Regions from separate parts of the Homo sapiens genome. Here region 2 is linked to region 1. Evidence: promoter capture Hi-C in 16 types of primary human blood cells and fetal thymus (Javierre and others, 2016). All regions are on one chromosome and are shown on one strand. Each heading gives the region's core, a stretch centred on a gene start or on the middle of the fragment in contact. The rest is flanking DNA. Distances are from core to core; before and after follow the strand shown. Region 1 holds the start of COMP (cartilage oligomeric matrix protein). Region 2 overlaps CRLF1 (cytokine receptor like factor 1).

Evidence for each region. Contacts are between HindIII fragments. The CHiCAGO score rates a contact against its expected background, and 5 or more counts as called.
Region 2: a fragment that was not itself captured here is called in contact with the fragment with the promoter of COMP in region 1 in 1 of 17 cell types (M0 macrophages); the score reaches 5.9 in M0 macrophages.

What each region holds. Positions count from the first base shown.
Region 1 is chr19:18,790,055-18,796,066 of GRCh38, forward strand. It overlaps COMP (cartilage oligomeric matrix protein), which reads right to left and starts at 1,251. Exons shown (of 19, transcript NM_000095.3): 1 at 1,137-1,251; 2 at 796-881; 3 at 508-559; 4 at 1-60. The coding sequence starts at 1,215. RefSeq lists enhancers at 1-410, 411-991, 992-1,570, 5,126-5,655. The HindIII fragment of the contact is 6,208 bases long and covers 1-2,914 here.
Region 2 is chr19:18,599,789-18,606,243 of GRCh38, forward strand. CRLF1 (cytokine receptor like factor 1) reads right to left here. Exons shown (of 9, transcript NM_004750.5): 2 at 1-58. Among named protein-coding and RNA genes, the nearest start is that of CRLF1, 3.8 kb to the right of the region's middle. RefSeq lists an enhancer at 6,133-6,455. The HindIII fragment of the contact is 4,529 bases long and covers 1-3,515 here.

The sequences.
Region 1 (6,012 bases), core at 1-2,500:
GCGCGCAGTGGAGCAGGGGCCGCACGCTGGGTAGGCCGGTGCGTACTGACTGCTGCATCCCTGCGGGGGGGAGGGGGGAGAAGCGGCGGGGCTGATCGGTGGCTCGCCCGGGGGCAGAGCCTATCATGGCCACGCCCCGGGGCTGGAGGCTTCCCCTTCCCCCCCACCCCCCGCCCCGGGGCGGCCCGAAATCCTGCGCTGTCCGCGATCCCGCCCCAGAGGCTGCGCGCTCTGACCGCGGGGTCTCCCCGGTCTCTTCTCTGAGTCTCTGTCCCGCTTTTCTGCCCCGTGGCGTCTCTCACTTCCCCAAAACTCTCTCACCGCTTCTGTCTCTTTTTGTCTCTGTTTCTACACACCCCATCCCATTCCCGTTCGTCCGTCCACCTCTCCGTCAGCCTCCATCTCCTTCCGTCTCTTTTCCTCCCCAGCTTTCCCTGGCTCTCTGTCTCTGTCTCTGTGTCTCTGTCTCCCGTCTCTTCTCTCTCCCGACCGCCCCGCCGCGCTCACCGCACGCGTCACACTCCATCACCGTGTTTTTCAGGAACGTGATCTCCCTGACCTGCAGGGGTGGGATGGAATCAGCGGGGTCCCAACCTCTCCTCATCCCTCGGGTCTCCCCTCTCTCTACCCCGGGGTCCCTTTCTACAGCCTCTTTTCGCCAAGGACTCCCTACCCGCCGACCCCCTTCCCTCCCCATCTCCTCTCCACCTTCTCGGGTACTTCCTCTCTCCTCGCTGGGAACTGAGACCCCCTTCCGTTCCCTGGCACTCCCTGCCCCGCACCCGGGCCCCGCACCTGCTGCCGCAGCAGCTCCCGCACGTCCTGCAGCGCCGCGTTGGTTTCCTGCAGTTCCCGAAGCATCTGCGGGCCCAGGTCTGAGCCTGCGGCGGCAGGGGACCTGGTGAGGCGTCATGGGGCCGGGGAATCCCACCACCAACTCCCACCGTTGCAGCGAACCCGGACCTCCGAGGCCCCACTGCGCTCCTCTAGTCTCGGTCCCGCCACCTGCTTTCTGCGCCCGGCACGTCCCCTACGAACAGTCCGTGAGCCCCAAACAGCCTGGATCCCGGGCCTCTCACGGGTCCTACAGTCCGTTGTGGGGCCGTGGGCACGGCGCGGGTGCTAACGCGGCTTACCCAACGGGCTCTGGCCCTGTCCGGACGCGCCGAGGGCAGCCAGGGTGAGCAGAAGAACGCAGGCGGTGTCGGGGACCATGGCGGTGGCGGGGAGCTGGGTGGCTGCTCGCTTTCTACCGCCCACGAGGCCCGCGGGGCCTATTTATCCCCAAGGCACGGCCGGCCCCAGGGACGGCCCACCACAGCCCTGCCCAACGTCCAGCCTCAAGGTAAACAGATGGCGCTGGCCCCTGCGTTCAAGTCCCCGCCCGGAATGCCCCGCGAAGTCGCCCGCGGCTGAATCCGACATGGTGGGGAAACTGAGTCCCGGGGTCTGTGGAGAGAGCTGGTGGGGCAGGGAGTCAGGGGGTACTGCCCCCACTTTCATTCACTGTGTGTGTGCGTCTGTGTGTGTGTGTGTGTGTGTGTGTGACGGGGTGTGGCTGTATCGCATCCTCTTGCTTCAGTCTCCCATGTAGCTGGGACTACAAGCCCGCACCACCAAGTCCAGCTAATTTATTTTTATTTTTATTTTTATTTTTAGAGACCGGGTCTGGCTATGTCCTGCAGGCTAGTAGTCTCAAACTCCCGGCCTCAAGCGATACTCCCCACATAACTGGGATTACAGGATCCAGCCATAGCATTCAGCTCATTGATTGATTGATTGATTGAGTGCTTGCTGTATGCCAAACCTGAGTTCCAGTTCCAAACAAGGCAGGCTCCATGGCCACGCTCTCAGCTCACACTTCGGGAAACAGAGTCACCAGCGTCTGAAAAAATAGGTCCACCCACTATGGATCAGACTGACTGGCCCTCCACTCCTCCTGAAGTGCTTCAAAACTGGGTAAGTTGCTGGGTGCGGTGGCTCACACCTGTAATCCCAGCACTTTGGGAAGCCAAGGCGGGCAGATCACCTGAGGTCAGGAGTTTGAGACCAGCCTGGCTAACATGGTGAAACCCCATCTCTACTAAAAGTACAAAAATTACCCAGGCGTAATTCCTCCCTTGCACAATGGAGGTAATAAGTTAATAATTATTAATTAATGATTAATAGTAATGATGATTATGATGATGAATGGAAAATAGGGGAGGGGCAGTTGAGACCTGGGACTCTCAATTTTCCTGCCTCTGTCCAAGGAGGCCGCTTCTGGCCCCAACGCTGGAGGGCTGCAAATGACTCCCCCCAACCCAACTCATTGCTGGTGTTCCCTCCCCTCCCCATGGTCCCTCGGCTGGTGGAGGAGGGGACAGCGTTCAGGATCTTGCCCCAACCCCTGTCCAAGGGGACAGGCCCACTTGGTTTTCCAATCTGCGCAATGGGGTGTGAGGCCCCCATCTGGAGGGGAGCAAGTTAAAGGGCTCTAGCAAGGGGAGGTCCGGGGCTTCTGTTTGTCCAGGCTGTGCCATACCTTCCAAACTGTGCTCCAGCTGCTGTGGGAACAGCCTGTAATAAAAATAAAAGTTACCGCTAACTGGCCAGCCACACTCTGGAGTTACAAAACCCCTTAACCTCCTGCAATCAGTTAACACTCTCCACTCCCACCTTCCAGTACTCACAGCGTCTATTCTATAGACAGAGAAACTGAGGCCCAGAGAGAAAAAGTGACTGGCCTAAGGCCACTGCCCGAGGGCAGGGGTGAATCTAGACTCAGAGCCAGATATGTTTTCTGGGGAGCCTACAGAGAAGTCACCGAGGGCTTCCTGGAGGAGGTAGCAAGGAGACAGACATAAAAGAAAAGGAGGACTTGGATCAGCAGAGGGAAAAGGTGAGGGCAGTTTTGGTGGAGGGAAGCATGTGAAGCTTGGAGGTGGGGACATTTCTAGACACAATAATTATTTCACAAACATCAAGGACTGTTGTGTGTCATGTCTCCTGTGCTGGGTGATGGGCACACAGGGTGAAGAAGCCAGACCCAGTCTCTCCTTCAAATGGGGAGCCCAGTGGGCTCATGGCTGTGACGGGACACACAGACAATGGTAGGAGTCCCCAGGAAATTGATCTGTTTGAAAGGGGATGGGTCAGGGCGGGCTTCTGGAGGAGGAGGGACCACCAAGCTGAGGACCGGATGATGAGGAGGACACAGCCAGGCAGAGGTAGCAGAAAGTCATTCCAGGTAGAGGAAACAGCATAGGCAAAGGCCCTGAGGCAGGAACCAACCTGGCCCGTTGGATGGACTGACCTCAAGGTGACAAGCTCTTGGGGCTCAGTGAGAAGCAGGAGATGAGGCTGTGTGTGAAAGGGCAGTGCTGGTGGTGTGGGGCTCCAGTGGTCTCCCGAGGGTAATGGGGAGCCACAGAGAGTGCGTGAAGAGAGACAGGCCTATAAGTGGAGTGTTGGTGGAAGCAGCTGGTCCCAGCCAGAGCATTTCCAATGAAGCCTGTCCTCAATAGTGCCTGCCCTGCCTGCTGCCTACATTGGGGCCATGAGCTCACCTCCTGTTTTCCTTGGCCTTCAGCACACCTGGGGGCCGCTCCTGGCAGCACTGGAATTCTCGGGAAAACCACAGCTCCAGTGGGGCCTGGGGGCTGGCATATGCTGCACACAGCTAGGACAGGAGCACATGGAAGCCAGGCCCCTGCCACAGGCTGGTCACAGTGCTGGGGCTTGGACACACGTGGCCTTATCCATGGCTGGGCCACGGGGAGTTGCAGGGAAGGGCATTCCAGGCGGAGGGAACTACAAAGGTGGAGTTCCTGAGGGTGTCCCAAGATCGGACAACAGAGGCCCGGAAAGGGGATGTCTGGGGTCACACTCCTGCCTCCTGGATCTCGCCAGCCCTGAAATCCCCCTTCTAGGCAGCAGTCCCCTCCTCCTGTGCACACCACACTTGCCTCAGATTACAGAATAACTCACTGTAGGTGTCATTCTGGGCCTTTGTACCTGCTGTTCCCCCCACCTCGTACAAACTCCTCCATCCTTCAAGGTCCAGCTATAATGTCCCCTCCTCCAGGAAGCCTTCCCTGCTGATATTCTCCAGATAACCTTCCAGCCTAGCCATGATCCTCGGGACTGTGAGTGTCTGTGGTTTGCTCTGTCCCTCCGAGCCTGAGGGGCTCCCACCCAGGGGCCTGGACTGGTGTAGAAAGGTTAGGCTGGAGGGCTTGGTGAGCCGGGACAGCATCCCTATGATTCGTGTTCATTACTATTTTTTTTTTTTTTTTTTGAGATGGAGTCTCACTTTTGTCGCCCAGCTGGAGTGCGATGGTGCAATCTCGGCTCACTGCAACCTCTGCCTCCTGAGTTCAAGTGATTCCCCTGCTTCAGCCTCCTGAGTAGCTGGGATTACTGGCACCTGCCACCACGCCCAGCTAATTTTTTTATATTTTTAGTAGAGACGGGGTTTCACCATGTTGGCCAGGTTGGTCTCGAACTTCTGACCTCAGGTGATCCACCTGCCTCAGCCTCCCAAAGTGCTGGGATTACAGGCGTGAGCCACCGCGCCTGGCCATTACTACTTTTTATAATTAATGTAATGTCATTACTATTTTTTTTTTTTTTTAAAATAGAGATGGGGGTCTTATTATGTTGCCCAGGCTAGTCTCGAACTCCTGGGCTCAACAGATCCTCCTTCCTCGGCCTCTCAAAACCCTGGGATTTCAGCCACTGCACCCAGCCAACATTATCATATGAATCCTAGTAACCCCTGCCACCTCTGTACTTGATATGGCAGGGAAGGGGGCCACACAGCCTGGGTTCAAATATTGGTGAGCATGGCCTTACTGTGTGACCTAGGACAAGTCACTTAACCTCTCTGTGCTTCAGTTTTCTCACCCATAAAATGAGGATGATCACTGTTGAGAGGATTGAATGAGCTGACCCATGGAAATCCTTCAGCCCAGCGCCCAGCTCCAGCGCTACTAGCGTGCTTATTCCATATGAAATTTATACACCGTGGGCCAGTGTGGTGGCTCACACCTATAATCCCAGCACTTTGGGAGGCCACAGCAGGTGGATCACCTGAGGCCAGGAGTTCGAGACCAGTGTGGCCAACGTGAAACTCCATCTCTACTCAAAATACAAAAATTAGCTGGACGTGGTGGCGCGTGCCTGTAATCCCAGCTAATCGGGAGGCTGAGGCAGGAGAATCACTTGAACCGGGGAGGCAGAGGTTGCAGTGAGCCGAGATCACATCACTGCACTCCAGCCTGGGCGACCGAGTGAGACCTTGTCTCAAAAAAACAAAACAAAACAAAAAAACTTATACCCTGTGCCTGTCGCTTATACCTCAGATCGTTCTTATTTCTATCTTACTCAGAGAGGAGAAGAGACAGTCTGAGGTCACACAGCCAGAATTAGAACTGAGGCATGCAAGACCCTCAAGCCCTTCATACCCGCCCTCTCTGTCCTTGCCACAGAAACAGAATCCAGCATTTCGCTGGCCCGAGCCCCTCATTAACTGGGATGTCTTCTCGGCCCAGGACCTCCTGGCCAGAGCATCTGGCCGGCGCCCCAGCCAGCCCCACACCAGGCCCCGTGGTTCCAGGAGCCCGGCCAGGCTGGGGAAGAGGGACGGGTGCCTGCATGATGGGGCCCCGGGGCCCTTCCTGGCAGACGTCTGCTCAGCCAGGAGACGTGTGGGCGCCCCGGCTCCCTGCCTCCCGCCCCCACCGTTGCCTGCCTTTGTGAATGCAGAAGGAAAGTATGTTGTGAAGGCAGCCGCCCTGCCCTGGGCGGGCCGGGCTGTAGGCCCCCAGTCTGCGGAATTCATCAGGGCGGCAGGGGAGGGCAGCTTGGCGACCTCTGCATCCTCAGCCTGCCTTGAACTGGGAGAGACGTACTGGAGGCATCTCTCTAGAAGGAACAAAAGGCAGGGGTGGGATGGGGGGCTCTGAGCTTTGAAGTCCAGGAGACGCCCCCCGACTGGCCGTGTGACCTTTGGCAGGTGCCACCTCCTCT
Region 2 (6,455 bases), core at 1-2,500, 190 kb before region 1:
GCCAGCAGGGAGGAGCCGATGAGAAGCGTGGGATCCTGGGGACTGATCACAGCTGTGTCTGGGGTCAAAGAGGAACACGTGTCAGGCCAGGGCGGGGACCCTCCAAGCCCCCAACCATGCCAGGACCTCCAGGGTTCATGGTGGTCCTGAAAAGACGCTGTTAATGATTGTCCCCCATTTTACAGATAGGGAAGGTAGAGATCAGTTGGGTTAAATGCCCAGGGCAACACTGGTGGCCAAACTGACAGACCTGGAGTTGTCCAGGTCTGTCTGACTCCAACACTGGATCCTTCCAAAACTCTTCATCACTGACATGCTTAAGGTTCTCTGAGGGGTCACACAACTCGGGCATAGAGGCTCATTCGGATCCAAGTGACTCTTGCTTAGCACATCGTTATGACAAACACTATGCTTTGCTTTTTTTTTTTGAGACGGAGTCTCGCTCTGTCGCCCAGGCTGGAGTGCAGTGGCACGATCTCGGCTCACTGCAACCTCCGCCTCCCGGGTCCAAGCAATTCTTCTGCCTCAGCCTCCCGAGTAGCTGGGACTTCAGGTGTGCACCACCATGCCTGACTAACTTTTGTATTTTTTTTTTTTTGAGACGCAGTCTTGCTCTGTCGCCCAGGCTGGAGTGCAGTGGCACGATCTCGGCTCACTGCAAGCTCCGCCTCCCGGGATCATGCCATTCTCCTGCCTCAGCCTCCCAAGTAGCTAGGACTACGCGCCCGCCACCACGCCTGGCTAATTTTTTGTATTTTTAGTAGAGACGGGGTTTCAGCATGTTAGCCAGGATGGTCTCGATCTCCTGACCTCATGATCCATCCGTATGGGCCTCCCAAAGTGCTGGGATTACAGGCGTGAGCCACTGCGCCTGGCCAAGTTTTGTATTTTTAGTAGAGACGGGGTTTCACCATATTGGCCAGGCTGGTCTTGAACTCCTGACCTCGTGATCCACCTCCCTCGGCCTCTCAAAGTGCTGGGATTACAGGAGTGAGCCAATACACCCAGGCATGCTTTGCTTTTTATTTTTTTAGCGACAGGGTCTCACTCTGTTGGCCAGGCTGGAGTGCAGTGGCACGATCATAGCTCACTGCAGCCTCGATCTCCTGGGTTCAAGTGATCCTCCCTCATCTCAGCTCCCAAGTAGCTGGGACTACAGGTGTGCACCACCACACCTGGCTGATTTTTAAATATTTTTTTAGAGATGAGGTCTCGCTAGTTTGCTCAGGCCGGTCTTGAACTCCTGGCCTCAAGCGATCCTCCCACCTTGGCCTCCCAAAGTCCTGGGATCACAGGCATGAGCTTCGGTGCCTAGCCTTCTTTATTTTTCATTCTCATTTTGTTTTTCTTTTTTGGCAACTAGAAACAAAAGATTGTGGGTTCTTCCTGTGATGCTCCCAGAGCCTCACACATAGTAGGTGTTTCTGTGGGGGAAGGGCACTGCTTAAAATGAAAGCCCTGACCCTTACTTGAATCATTAAGAGCACCATGTTTTTTTTTTTTTTGAGACGGAGTTTTGCTCTTGTTGCCCAGGCTGGAGTGCAATGGCACGATCTCGGCTCACCGCAATCTCCGCCTCCCAGGTTCAAGTGATTCTCCTGCGTCAGCCTCCCGAGTAGCTGGGATTACAGGCACACATCACCGTGCCCGGCTAATTTTTGTATTTTTAGTAGAGATGTGGTTTCACCGTGCTGGTCAGGCTGGTTTCGAACTCCTGACCTTGTGATCCGCCTGCCTCAGCCTCCCAAAGTGCTGGGATTACAGGGGTGAACCACCGCGCCCAGCCTGTATTTTTAGTAGAGTCCAAGAATCGCCATGTTGGCCAGGCTGGTCTCGAACTCCTGACATCAAGTGATCCACTCGCCTCAGCCTCCCGAAGTGCTGGGATGACAGGCGTGAGTCATTGCGCCTGGCCTAACAGCACCATTTATTGAGCACTTGTTGTGTTCTGAATACTGGGCTAAGACTACCTACATTTTCTCGGCCAATCCTGCTTATATGTTAAAGATGAAAAAACTCCGGCTCTGAAAGATGGAGTTTCCTTGCTGGAATGAGGGAAGGCCATACTAGTTAGGCCCAGATTTTCTGGTCTCCAAAGTTCTGTTCCACACTGCCTACCTCTGGAACTAAAGGCAGCCCTGGCAAACTGCACGTCCCCAACTCCCATCCAAAGGGACTTGACATCATCGCTGTTTCCCTCCACTCAGTTTTCCTCATCTGCAAAGTGAGAACGAGAAAGCTCTTTGTCTCCTGGGGTATTGTGAAAGTCAGAGGGGAAAGGACTTCCTGAACCAGGTTGTGTGTGAGTCAGGTACTAGGCACAGGAAACTTGGGGACGCCCATGGGTGGTTGATGCCTCTCTCTCCTGCTGGCCATCAGGGCAGCCCAGGAGTTCCCCTTCTGGAGACCAGAACCTTGTCCATAGGGAAACCAAGGCCCAGAGGAGGAGGGGGTGCACAGGCCAACCTCCCAATGCCTCTCTGAGTCTCAGTTTCCCCATCTGGAAAGTGGACATCATGGCGTCAATGTCATGGGGTTGGCTGGGTGCGGTGGCTCATGCCTGTAATCCCAGCACTTTGAGAGGCTGAGGTGGGAGGATCACGTGAGGTCAAGAGTTTGAGACAGCCTGGGCAACATGGTGAAACCCTGTCTCTACCAAAAATACAAAAATTAGCCAGGTGGGGAGGGGGTGGTGGCCCCATGCCTGTGGTCTTAGCTACTTGGGAGGCTGAGGCAGGAGGATCGCTGGAGCCCGGGAAGTTGAGGCTGCAGTGAGCCATGACTGCACCACTGCACTCCAGCCTGGGTGACAGTGAGACCCTGTCTCAAAAAAGAAATAAAAAATTTAGATTTAAATTTATAAAAACCAACAAAACAAACCTCATGAGGTTGTTTGAGAGGAGTGAAAATATTGTTGGAGACAATATTTTCCCATGAGATCTTTAAACCAAGTTGACCTGGACTCGAATGCCCCCAGCCTGACTCAGTGTTCTACTTTTTTTTTTTTTTGAGACAGAGTCTCACTCTGTCACCCAGGCTGGAGTGCAGTGGCACAATCTCGGCTCACCATAACCTCCACACCCAGCTAATTTTTGTATTTTTAGGAGAGACGGAGTTTCGCCATGTTGGCCAGGCTGGTCTCGAACTCTTGACCTCCAGTGATCCACCCGCCTTGGCCTCCCAAAGTGCTGGGATGACAGGCGTGAGCCACTGCACCCGGCCTCAGTGTTTTACTTCTTTGAGCCTCTGGAAAGGGGCTTCTCGTTCCACACAGAGTGGTTGTAAAGACTCATCCACGCCTTTGTTCGTTCACGCGTTCATCTATTCATTCACAGGGTACCTATAGTGTGTCCGGATCTGTGGGCACTGGGGTGATGCCCAAGACACACAAAAGTCCTGCCCTTGTGGGCATCAAATCCAAGGAAGCAGCAGGAAAAAGGAATAAATAAATATCTAAGACAATAACTAGGGGAGAAAGTAAAGCAGGGGCTGGAGGAAGACAGAGCAGCGGCAGAAGCTTGGGAGGCCTGTCTGGGGAGGTGACCTTTGAGCAGAGACCTGAATAAAGTAAGAGAAGTAGCTGTGACATTATCTAACAGAGCATGTCCAGGCAGTGGGAGCTGCAAGTGCCAAGGTCCTGGGGCAGAAGCGGTGGGAAATGAGGTTTGAGAGGTCAGAGACCCTGACCTGCAGGGAGGAGGGATTCCAGGGTTCTCAGCCGGGGAGGGAGGGATGCGGTGAGATATGCGTTAAAAGGACTCCCCAGGCGGCTGGAAGAAGGGACTGCAGGAGGCAGGGGCAGCCCAGCTTCGCAGAGATGGCAGCCAAGGACAGGGTGATCCTGGCCCCCAGGGAGGCCCCCTGAATGCCAGCGCTGCCCTGCACTTGCCCTCACTGCCCCAGATGGGCGAGGTGGGGTGGACACGGTTCTTGGGCCGGCCCTGATGATTTTCCGGGGCAAACTTGGCTCGAGGGCTCTGTCTCGCTGGAGCCTGGAATCGCAGTTGCGCTTGGGGCTTGGCCCAGGGCTCGCCGGAGGTCTCCGCGTCCGTGCGAAGGAGCCGGCTGAGCGGGCCAGAGCCGAGGAGGCGGGGGCGGCCGAGGGGGGCGGGGGGCTGGGGGCCAGGGGACCGCCCTGGAGGTCCCAGGCAGCCAGCCGCCCGCTAATTCGGAATTCCTTTTGCATGAACTCGGGTGTGCCAGCGTCTCTGCCCCGGCCCACCCACCGCTTCCTGCCTGGGCCCCCCCAACAGAGTGGGAGGCACGGCCAGGCCTGCCCAGACCCCAGGCCCCTCTCAGCCCTTCTAGAGTGGGTCTCACTCCTCCTGCCCCCACCACCCGCCAGCTTGGCCTGGGCAGGAAGGGGCTCTCTGGGGGGTCCTGGCTGGGGGGCGCTGCCCCTCTGCCACACCCGCCTGGCCTGGGCCGGCGTGGCTCACTTGCCAGCAGCTGCAGCTGCCCTCCCGGGGCTGGGCGGGGGACACCGGGCGGCGACGGGTTGTAGGGGGAAGGCAAGGCCAGGCGGGCCTGGACAGACCAATCTCCCACCCCCTTAGCCCCAGCCGGTAAGGTCAGAAGGACACTTTCTCCTCCCGGGATATGGGCGCAACACCAGTGGGAGAACCTGGCCAATTGACTTCCCCTCTCCAGTTCTCAATTTTCTCCTCCATAAAATGGGAGGAGAAATACGTTCTACTTGCTGGGGAGATCAATGAGATGTGATTGCAATCCAATGTCCAGAGGGCTCAGAAGCCTGAAGCCCCCAGGAGCTGCAAAGATGACAGCCCCTCCCAGCTCTGGGGTCCCGGCTGACTAGGCACTCCCTCCAGGCCTCCACAAACAATGGGCTAAGGCGCTGGGGACAGAGATGCACGCACTCCAGGCCAGGCAGGGGAGCAGCTGGGAACAGCCCACTGAGCCGGAGTTGGTGGGGGCTTGGCTTGGTTTGGAGGGCCTCCTAGGGCTCCCCAAAGCAGATCCCTAGGTTGGGCTTTTGAACAGCTCCCTTTTCACTCCCTGCCTCCCCTCCTTTCCCGCAGAGCTGGGGCCTTTAAAAGTTTTTTCTCTCCTCTTTTCCCAATCTGGAGCCACTGCCGTTATTAAAAAGGAACACCATGTGTTTTAAAAGGGAAAAGTGTGAGATTCTCTGCAAGCAGGGCGGAAGGGTGGCCTCCATCCCAGGGTCCCCACGGGGGTCCCCATCTCCCGTCCCGCTGGTACCTGCAGACACTTTACGACCCACCCGCCTGCTGGTCAGGTGCTAAGACACACCGTAAGTAGAAACATATTGCCGAGGTGTGAGAATCTTTTATTTAATTTCTTCCCCCCTTAAAGGAAAAAACACACTTACAGTGCCCCCCCACCCCCTACACCTTCGCCTGCTGCTCTACTGGCTGAAAACAAAGCTTGGCGCTCACAGTGGCACTCACAGGCGCTGCCCACCGCCTGGCAGAGCCGTCAGGGGCCCTGGGAGGGCCCGAGGTAGCCCCTCACCTGAAAGCCAGGGGAGAGCCAGGCTTTCAGCAAGTGCCCCTAGAAGATGCCCGGACCCTGCCCCTTCCCGGAGGAGCCCTACAGGCAGCCCGCAAACAGCCCAGCACAGGGTGGATGAGCCTGGGAGCAGTGTGTGCCCGGCGACCCCCGGGGTGGCCCGTGCGCCTGGATGGGGTGCGTGGAGTGACTGAACATCTGGGGCGAGTGGTGCCTGCCTCTGTGCCCCTGGGTCGCCTCCCCTGTGGGATGTGTGTGACCGTGAATGTGTGTGTCGGGGATGGAATGTGTGTGCGTCCGCGATGGTGCGCGAATGTGCACCTGGGATGCAGTGTGCGCGAGTTTGAGGGCGAGGGTGACGGGCCACAAGCCAGTGTGATTCTTTGTGTGTCTCTGGGTGTGTCCCAGAGCGGGTCTGCATACGGAGACGTATCCTTGCGGGGGTGTTCCTTGGATGGGGGGCCCCAGAGTGCCTGAGGCCAGAAGTCCCTCCAGGGCAGGGGTCTTGGCCCGTAGGGCAGCGGGTTCCCAGTGGGCCCCCTCAAAGTTTGGGCCCGCTGGTGCCCGGACTCACTGGCTCCCGCTCCCTCTCCCTCTCACCCACTCGCTCACAAAGATTCCTCTCGCTGGAGGCTCTCCGCCCGACGCAGCCTGGCTGAAAACGGTTCTAAGCGCCGCCGGTGGCGGGGACTCCGCGGACCCCCGTGCGCCGGGTCCCGCAGGGGGAGGGCGGTGGCGCCGGCCCGTGGAGACACAAGTCCCCCGGGACCCCGGGCTGCGCGCCAGGCGGCCAGAGCGGCCCCCCTGCAGCCCCGCCCTCCCCGTGGGGCTCATCCCTCCGCCTGGGGGGGCCCGCTGGGGGCCCGCACCCAGCGCGCCAACCGCGTGCGCCCCCGCCTGGGAGCGGTGCCCTGCAGTCCCAGGGGCCCAGAGTCCACCGAAGCAGACGCGTGCGCCCGCCACGT